3 separate regions of the Homo sapiens genome follow, and regions 1 and 3 are each linked to region 2. Evidence: promoter capture Hi-C in human tissues and cell types (Jung and others, 2019). All regions are on one chromosome and are shown on one strand. The core of a region is centred on a gene start or on the middle of the fragment in contact, and the rest is flanking DNA. Distances in the headings are between cores, read along the strand shown. Region 1 has its middle 44 kb from the start of LINC00907. Region 2 holds the start of SYT4 (synaptotagmin 4). Region 3 has its middle 91 kb from the start of LINC00907.

Region 1 (2,700 bases), core at 190-2,689, 1.1 Mb before region 2:
TAAACTGCCCCACCCTTCCTTTGCAGAGATCCTGGTACAAGAGGACCCTCTCTGCTTTATACCCAGGGAGAGCCCCAGGCATTCAGAACACCTGCTTGCCTGGTTCAGCAGCCAAAGTCACCCCACCCATACTGTGCAGAGATCTTGGAACAGGGGAGCCCTTTCCACTCCATGCCCAGGCAGATCTCCAGGCATTTGGAGCACTGGTCACCTAAAACAGCAGCCTGAGCAGGCCACGTTTTATTTGCAGAGATCCCGGTGTGGGGCTGGGGGAGGAAGCCCTCTCCACTCCATGCACAGCAGATTTTCAAGCACTTAGAGTACCTACTTTCCTGGATCAGAAGTTTAGGCTGTCCTCGATTCCTGTGCAGAGAACTTGGGGCCAAGGAGGCCTCTCAGCTTCACATCTAAGCACACCTCTGGGCACTTGGTGGCTACCTGCTGGATTCTCCCTTGGTGCTGGTGCTTGTGCCTGCCATTGGTGGACTGGCAGATAGACCTGTCCAGTCCAGCCTTGACCATCTTGTCCCCTACCCCTCTAGGGCTGAAGAGGGAGCTCTGACCACAGTGCACCTCATGAATCAGCCCATTCCCTGAGATAACGAGAGCTTCTGCCAGTAAACAAGGATTAAGTAAATACCCAGCTGCTTTGGCAACACTTGACTCTTACCCACAAGCTCCATCTTCTGGCTTGTAGGTCCAACTGCACAGCCCAATATAAACCTGCTGACATTCATAGGGCTATAGAAGAGAAGCCAAAAGACCCACCCACCCAGCATTCTCTAATGCAGCAGTCCCCACCCTTTTTGGCACCAGGGACCAGTTTTGTGGAAGAAAAATTTTTCTAAGGATGGTGGCAGGGGAGGGGAGATGGTTTCAGGGTAAAACTGTTCTACCTCAGATCATCTGGCATTAGTTAGATTCTCATAAGGAGTGCACAGCCTAAATCCCTCGCGTGTACAGTTCACAATAGGGTTTGTGCTCCTATGAGAATCTAATGCCAGCCAGGCGCGGTGGCTCACACCTGTAACCCCAGCACTTTGGGACTTTGGGAGGTCGAGGCGGGCGGATCACAAGGTAAGGAAATCGAGACCATCCTGGCTAACATGGTGAAACCCCATCTCTGCTAAAAATACAAAAAATTAACCAGGCGTGGTGGCGGGTGCCTGTAGTCCCAGCTACTCGGGAGGCTGCGGCATGAGAATGGCGTGAACCTGTGAACTTGGGAGGCACAGCTTGCAGTGAGCCGAGATTGCGCCACTGCACTCCAGCCTGGGCTACAGAGCGAGACTCCGTCTCAAAAAAAAAAAAAAAAAAAAGAATCTAATGCCACTGCTGATCTGCAGGGGGTGGAGCTCAGGCAGTAATGCTTGCTCCCCAGCAGCTCACTTCCTGCTGTGCCCCCTGGTTCCTAATGGACCATGGACAAGGACCAGTCTTCGGGCCAGGGGCTAGGGATCCTTGCTCTAAAGTCGTATCCTCTGGTGGGGAGGGGGGAATGGGAAAAGGAAATAAGAAAAAATAATATTATAGGGAAAGAAAGAAAAAGGAAAAAGTCCTACCTAGACAAAAATAATTACAAAACTTAGAAATGCCAGCATCTCCAGATGAGGAGCTAGCACAAAAATTCTGGAACTATGAAAAATCTTAATGTAGTGACAACCCTGAAGGATCACGCTAGTTCTCCAGCAATAATACATAACCAAAACAGAAACTCGGACATAACAGATAAAGAATGCAAAGAATGGATTGCAAGGAAGCTCAATGAGATCAACAACAAGGTTGAAAATCAACACAAAGAAACTTCTAAAGCACTCCAGGAAATGAAGAGATAAACATCTTCAAAAAACTTAAACAGAGCTTCTGGAATTGAAAAATTCAGGGAATTTTAAAATAGAATTGAAAGCTTTATTAATAGACTGGACAAAGAAGAAGAAAGAATTTGAGAACTTGAAGACCAGTCTTTTGAACTAACCCAGACAGACAAAAATAAAGGAAAAAGAATTTAAAAAAATAAAGTCTTTGAGAAATATAGGATCATGTAAAGTGACCAAACATATAAATTATTGACATTCCTGAGAGAAATGGAGAAAAGGGAAACAATCTGAAGAACATATTTGAAGGAATAATTCAAGAAAATTTCCCTAATCTTGCTAGAGAGGTAAATACCCAGATATAAGAAATCCAGAGTAAATATGTGAGATACCATACAAAATGAGCATCATCGAGGCATATAGTCATCAGACTGTCCAAAGTCAACATTAAAGAAAAAAATCTTAAAGACAGCTAGAGAAAAAGGTTGGACCACTTACAAAGGGAACCTCATCAGGCTAACAGTGGATTTCTCAAAAGAAACCTTAGAAGCCAGGAGAGATTGGGGTCCATTTTCAGCATTCTTAAAGAAACTCCAAACAAGTATTTCATACCCTGCCAAACTAGGATTCATAAGCAAAGGAGAAATAAAAGTTCATGCAGACAAGCAAGTGCTAATGGAATTCATTACCACTAGATCAACCTTACATGAGATCCTTTAGGGAGTTCTAAAAATAGAAGTGAAAGAATGATACCTGCTACCACAAAAACACCCTTAAATGCATAGCCCACAGACCTTATAAAGCAACCACACAATAGAAAATAAAAAGCAACCAGCTAACAACTTCACAATAGGATCAAAACCTAATATATCAATATTAACTATGA
Region 2 (2,700 bases), core at 134-2,633:
AAATGAAGAATTGGGAATAAATGTCATACCAAAATAAACCCAATAACCCAAATGGAAGGCTGGGAAAGAAATTCATTTATGAACATAATATCACAAATTGTCCCTATTGAATAGTTATGTCAAATGGCAAACATTTTCTATAACGTGGAAACACTTATCTACTCCCTATGTATTCTCTACTGATAAGGTCTTACAATCTTGAAAGTCAAGATCATAGTTATTTTACTCAGCTTAATAACAATTATCACACATCTGTAGATATCACTCCTCTTCACAACCTTCTATGAAATTTCATGATTTAAAAAATACGTGTAAGTAAAATTCTGACCTTTTTCCTTTGGAATATACTGAGATCTAAAAATAGTACTTTTTTACTCTATGAAGTACGTCTAATTTTATGTACTGAAACCAAAAACTTGGTGTGAGAAAAGGAAAACTGAACGGGAAAATTGGAGCCCTAATTCAAGTTTCCAGCAGCTTTTAGCTAATTGTGCAACCTATAATACTTCCCTCATCTCTCTGGGCTTTGGTTAGCTCAGCAGTGAAATGAAATGGGCTGAGCCAGTTCATTTTGAAACTCTCTTTAACCCTGCTACCATATGATTCTGTCTTTCACTAGCAACATATTTCAAGGATACAAGAAAAACATAGCAGAGAAAAACACCCATATGGTACGCCCTGTAATAAAATATACATTGCCAAACCCCAATAGACAAGTTGCTTTTTTTAACCAAGATCAAACCCCAATGTAACCAGAGATATATTTATCTTCTCCTAATAAAATATAGATTTACCTACAAATAAGAATCACCTACAAAATAGATGAAACCAACATGGGAAAAACAGACCCCTTTTTCTTTACTCAGTACATGCTGCAATTTACAGAAGTACCTGAAAATTTAAGAACTTCCTGAAGGTAAATTCTCCCTAACAGAAGACAGTTTCAGGGAGAGAGATACCAAGGAAGGGAGAGAAGCTGCAGAAATAAGCCACAATTGCCTGACTGCCATTCTCATTTTCCTTTTAAATTAACTACCTAGGAAATCTGTATTCAACAACCGGGCAAAAAATAAATGAATAAACAGTCCACCCCAGAGTATTCAAGGAATAACCGCAGTCATAAGTTCAGTAACTTGCTTACCAAATTCTTCCCGGCTGGTGGTGATCGGAGCCATTTTTTACTGCGTGTTCTGTCCGAGGTGCTGAAGGGAAAACTGCCTGGCTGGATTCACTTGCCTGGATCTCAAGCGCCGGCTTTCGGAGCGCTGAAAACAACAGCGCAGAGCCCAGGGCACCAGCTCCTGGAACAGGGAGGAGGCAAAGAGGGAGGTCCACTCGCCCTCGCACAGTGATTTGCCACCTCGGTTCCTGTTTTGGCTCTTCTGAGAAGCTCGTCTCCGAGACTCCAGACGTGGCTGGAACCCGAATTGACGCAATCCTGACGCTACAGGGCTGAAATCAGCACCTGCCCCCCTCCCCTCCTCCCTTCAAGCTTTCCTTCTTGCTTCCTCCCTCCTCTCTTGAGGATTCAACACATGCTCATCAATTATTTTAACTGTTGGACCACTAGAGATTAGCTTTGCTGTTTTGTGGGGGCTCAGAGGCTCACCGAGATAAGCCCCGAAACTGATCCCTGTCAGTTCCTAATATAAAATCTCCTGATCACCTAGATGAATAAAAATATGTTTCTGAGTTTTCAGAATAACGTAACTTACAGAGGAGAAGTTTCTGCTTCAAATTACTCTTTTTAACATGCAAAAACATGTTTTCTTGCTTTTTAATTTTTTTCTTTGACATGTTATACCTATGATACTTATTACATTTAGAAAAGATTCACTACAAATTGATGCATTTGATATAAGATAGTTTTCCCAGTATAATCCTTTATGTTCTAATAAATTATTAGTCTAAATATTTTGCTGGAACAGTTGATCTTTCCTGGTCTCTCAGCTCTCTTCCCTTTAATATCTGACATTTGACCAGTTAAAGCACTTAGGAACAGATGGGGATAATTCCTTGGATATTCAGAGTCACTCTCAGTTATGACTTTTGCAAATAATAAGGCGCTTCTGAAATGACATTTATGGTTAAAAGGCCTGACTTCTAGTACGTTTGTACAAAATAGTTTCCAAAATCAGGCCAACATCTAAAGTAACATTGGTAACATTGGTTATTTCAAAGGAAAGCATTCCTTTTTCTAAACTGATGATATTCTCGGAGGTGAAAAACTGTGAAAAATATGGTGTCGGATTCTGATTCATTGGAATCTGAAGAGTGTGCCTTTCTAAAACAAATGCTTAGCAATTTTTCAAAGGAAAGAAGTCAAGCTGTAACTCCAACTGTCAATTATTGCTCTGCAAAGAATTTCTTTGCTCTGGAGTTAATAAGGAAATGGCATTCAGTGTGTGCTGGGATGTGGGAGAAGGGATACAGGGTGAGTCTCAGAAAGCTACTGTGCAAGTGACAGGTCCCTGCACATTGGCTAGCAGCAGCCCAGAGCATCAGGGCTCTGTCTGGGGAGAAATTGGCTTCAGTTCTTTGCATCATGGAAAATTTTATAAACCAGTCTTTTTTCTTTGCTATTCTATTTGCTCCCACATACTTGGCATTGGAGTGTTCCTCTAACAGATTTTTTTAAACTTTATATCTTCATGCTTTGAAAACACACAAACTAATTTGCTGTATTTAATTTTTCTGCTG
Region 3 (2,700 bases), core at 57-2,556, 1.2 Mb before region 2:
CTTGTTCCTGGGACTCTGTTTTCTCTCTGTACTCTCACAGTGATCTCATCCAATCCTGTGGCATTAGATGCCATTCATACACTAATGACCAGGACTAGCTTCATGGGCATGCTATCTGTGAAGCTGCACAAGACCTCACATTCTGATGGGCCCTGTGTTTAGTTTAATGCAATGATGTTGCTGTCTTAAAAGCTTTAATAATTAATTTGATCTTTGAATCGATATTGTGTAAGTGAAGACTGATGGGACAATGGAGCACGTGTACCAGCAGAGGATATGCCACCATGTATGTGTCTACCACCACTCTTTGACAATCCATTTGCCACATGAACACAGAATTCTGGTGGGCTTATATGCATGTGGTTCAATGAGAAAGAGAGAAAAAAAGGTACCGTTTACATCTACAATGGAATAAGTGGGGACACTGACATTCTCAAGAGGCCACATTTTCCATTTGAACAAGAACTTGTTTAGACATAGAACACAAAAAGTCAAGAAACCCTATGCACACCCTGAACTCAGCATGCTTATGTGTGAGCTGTGGGGGCAGAGGTGATAGTATGAAGGTTAAGGTCCATCCAGTGCATAGCAATGCCCTGATGAGGCTACCATCTGGCCACACTTTTAATTTCACATACCTCTGGGCTTAGTCATTTTCTCCTAGGACCAGCACCTACACCTGAAAGAGGTGACAACTTCAACTACCCACCTGGTATTGACCTTAGGTTATCATCCTAGACTTCTGATTCACTCAACAATATTTTATTTGGGGATCCTTGATGTCTTCCACATCACTGGGCTTTTGAGAGGCACCTACTCCTATACCATAAGACTCCTTTATCTCTGAATCTTAGAAAGAGTTGAAATAAATGGCTTTATAAAAAAACAAAAAGTTCTCTAGGATCCTCATGTAACTTGCTCCATCCTCTCCCCCAAGATCTGCATGCAGAGACAGGACCTAGAAGAGAATGCCAGCTTCCCTAAGTCAGACCAAAAGTCCCCACCCTCCTTTTCTACAGGAATTATTACTTTCTGGTATATATCGGTGTAGCCTAGTGTCATGAACATAGGTGTCAAACCCAGAGCACCTCAGTTCTAAATCTATGTTTGCTTATATCTTACCTGAGTAACACTGAGGAAGTTGCTTATCTTCCCTGCACCTCAATTTCCTCATACAAAAAAAAAAAAGCATATAATAATAGAATTTACCTTTTGAAGTTGTTGTATCTTTTAAATAAATAACTCAATTTACAGGGCTTGTAACAGTGTCTGGCCTACACAGCATTATGTAACTATTCTGCATTATTAATTTTTTGAAGATGGGTAAAAAAGTTATTTATTCAAGTAATAATTTATTGAATCTTTATTGTATGTTTAGCATTGGGGGTACAGTTGTGAAAGGAACAGACATGTTTCCTACCTGCATGGATTTTACAACCTAGTAAGGCAACAGTTGGAGAGACAGACAGGAAGCAATCATACAAGCAATTTAATAGTTATAAAATGTAGTAAGTGCTTTGAAAGAAGCAACTGTGTGTGGTTAAAGAGAATACAAGAGGAAAATCTAGTTTAGATATAATCACCAAAAAAAGTCATCTGAGGAGATAATACTTTAAGCCAAGAATAGATGATGAAAGGAACCATGCATGAAAGGTTGAGGGGTAAAGGGAGCAGGAGGGGCATTTTAATTACAGGGAGCAGCATGTGCAAAGGTCTTAAGCCATGAAAAAGCTTGCTTTGTGCAATAACCTGAAAGAAAGCTAGTATGTCTGGAACCTGGTAATAAAGGTGAAACATTAAAAAAGGAGCCTGGAGAGGTAGGTGGAATCAAATCATACATGGGCTTATAAACCATGGGAAAAGTTGGAATTTTATTTAAGTGCAAAGGAAATCAGTGAACCAAATGATTAGGTTTAACTTATTAAATTATCACTTTGTTTCTTTCATAGAAAATGGACCTTTGGGGAAAAATCAGGAAGACTAATTAGTAATCTAGGAGAAAATTCTGGTGGCTTGGATTAGGGTGGTAAAAGTAGATATAGGGAGAAAGGAAATGAATTTGAAGCATGATTTGGAGAAAAATTGGATAGGACTTGCTGATGGATTGACTATGGGAGAGAAGAAGAGGGAGGAATGAAGATTGACTCTCAGCATCCTGGTGTGAGCAATAGAGTGAATTTTGGGGGCACTTGCAGTGATTAGGAAGACAGAAGAAAAGTTGAATATTTTAGGGGGAGATATAGAGGTGAATTTTCAGTTAGCTTATACACTTTGAGATAGCTCTGAGATATTTTACCTGGGCTGCCAATTAAAAACATAGCTTCAATAAGAGTCACAGCTTCAGAAAAGAAATTTGAGAGGTATAATTTTGAGAGTTATCTGTTAGTAGATGGTATTTAGAACATAAAAAGTGAGAGATGCAAGTGATGAAGAATACCCAAAAGAATATTGAAAAAAAATTAGAGAATTCAAACTCCCTGATAAACTTACTACAAAGCTACAGTAGTCAAGATGGTGTGGCACTGGCTTAAGGATAGACACACAGATTAATAGAATAAATTTAAGAATCTACAAATAAACCATTAACTTATGGTCAATTGACTTTTGAAATGGGTGCTAAAACAATTCAACGAAGGAAACAATAGCCTTTTCAACAAATGGTACAGAAACAACTGGATAGTCACATGAAAACCAACGAAG

The links. Contacts are between HindIII fragments. The study calls those that stand out against the background at their distance.
Region 1: a contact is called between a fragment that was not itself captured here and the fragment with the promoter of SYT4 in region 2, in 4 of the 25 tissues and cell types used here (dorsolateral prefrontal cortex, hippocampus, lymphoblastoid cells and 1 more).
Region 3: a fragment that was not itself captured here is called in contact with the fragment with the promoter of SYT4 in region 2 in 3 of the 25 tissues and cell types used here (dorsolateral prefrontal cortex, mesenchymal stem cells and spleen).

Annotation. Positions count from the first base shown.
Region 1 is chr18:42,141,005-42,143,704 of GRCh38, forward strand. No RefSeq gene overlaps it. Among named protein-coding and RNA genes, the nearest start is that of LINC00907, 44 kb to the right of the region's middle. The HindIII fragment of the contact is 9,153 bases long and covers 1-2,700 here.
Region 2 is chr18:43,276,107-43,278,806 of GRCh38, forward strand. SYT4 (synaptotagmin 4) reads right to left here and starts at 1,384. Exons shown (of 4, transcript NM_020783.4): 1 at 1,142-1,384. The coding sequence starts at 1,175. The HindIII fragment of the contact is 4,332 bases long and covers 1-2,700 here.
Region 3 is chr18:42,094,472-42,097,171 of GRCh38, forward strand. No RefSeq gene overlaps it. Among named protein-coding and RNA genes, the nearest start is that of LINC00907, 91 kb to the right of the region's middle. The HindIII fragment of the contact is 6,150 bases long and covers 1-2,700 here.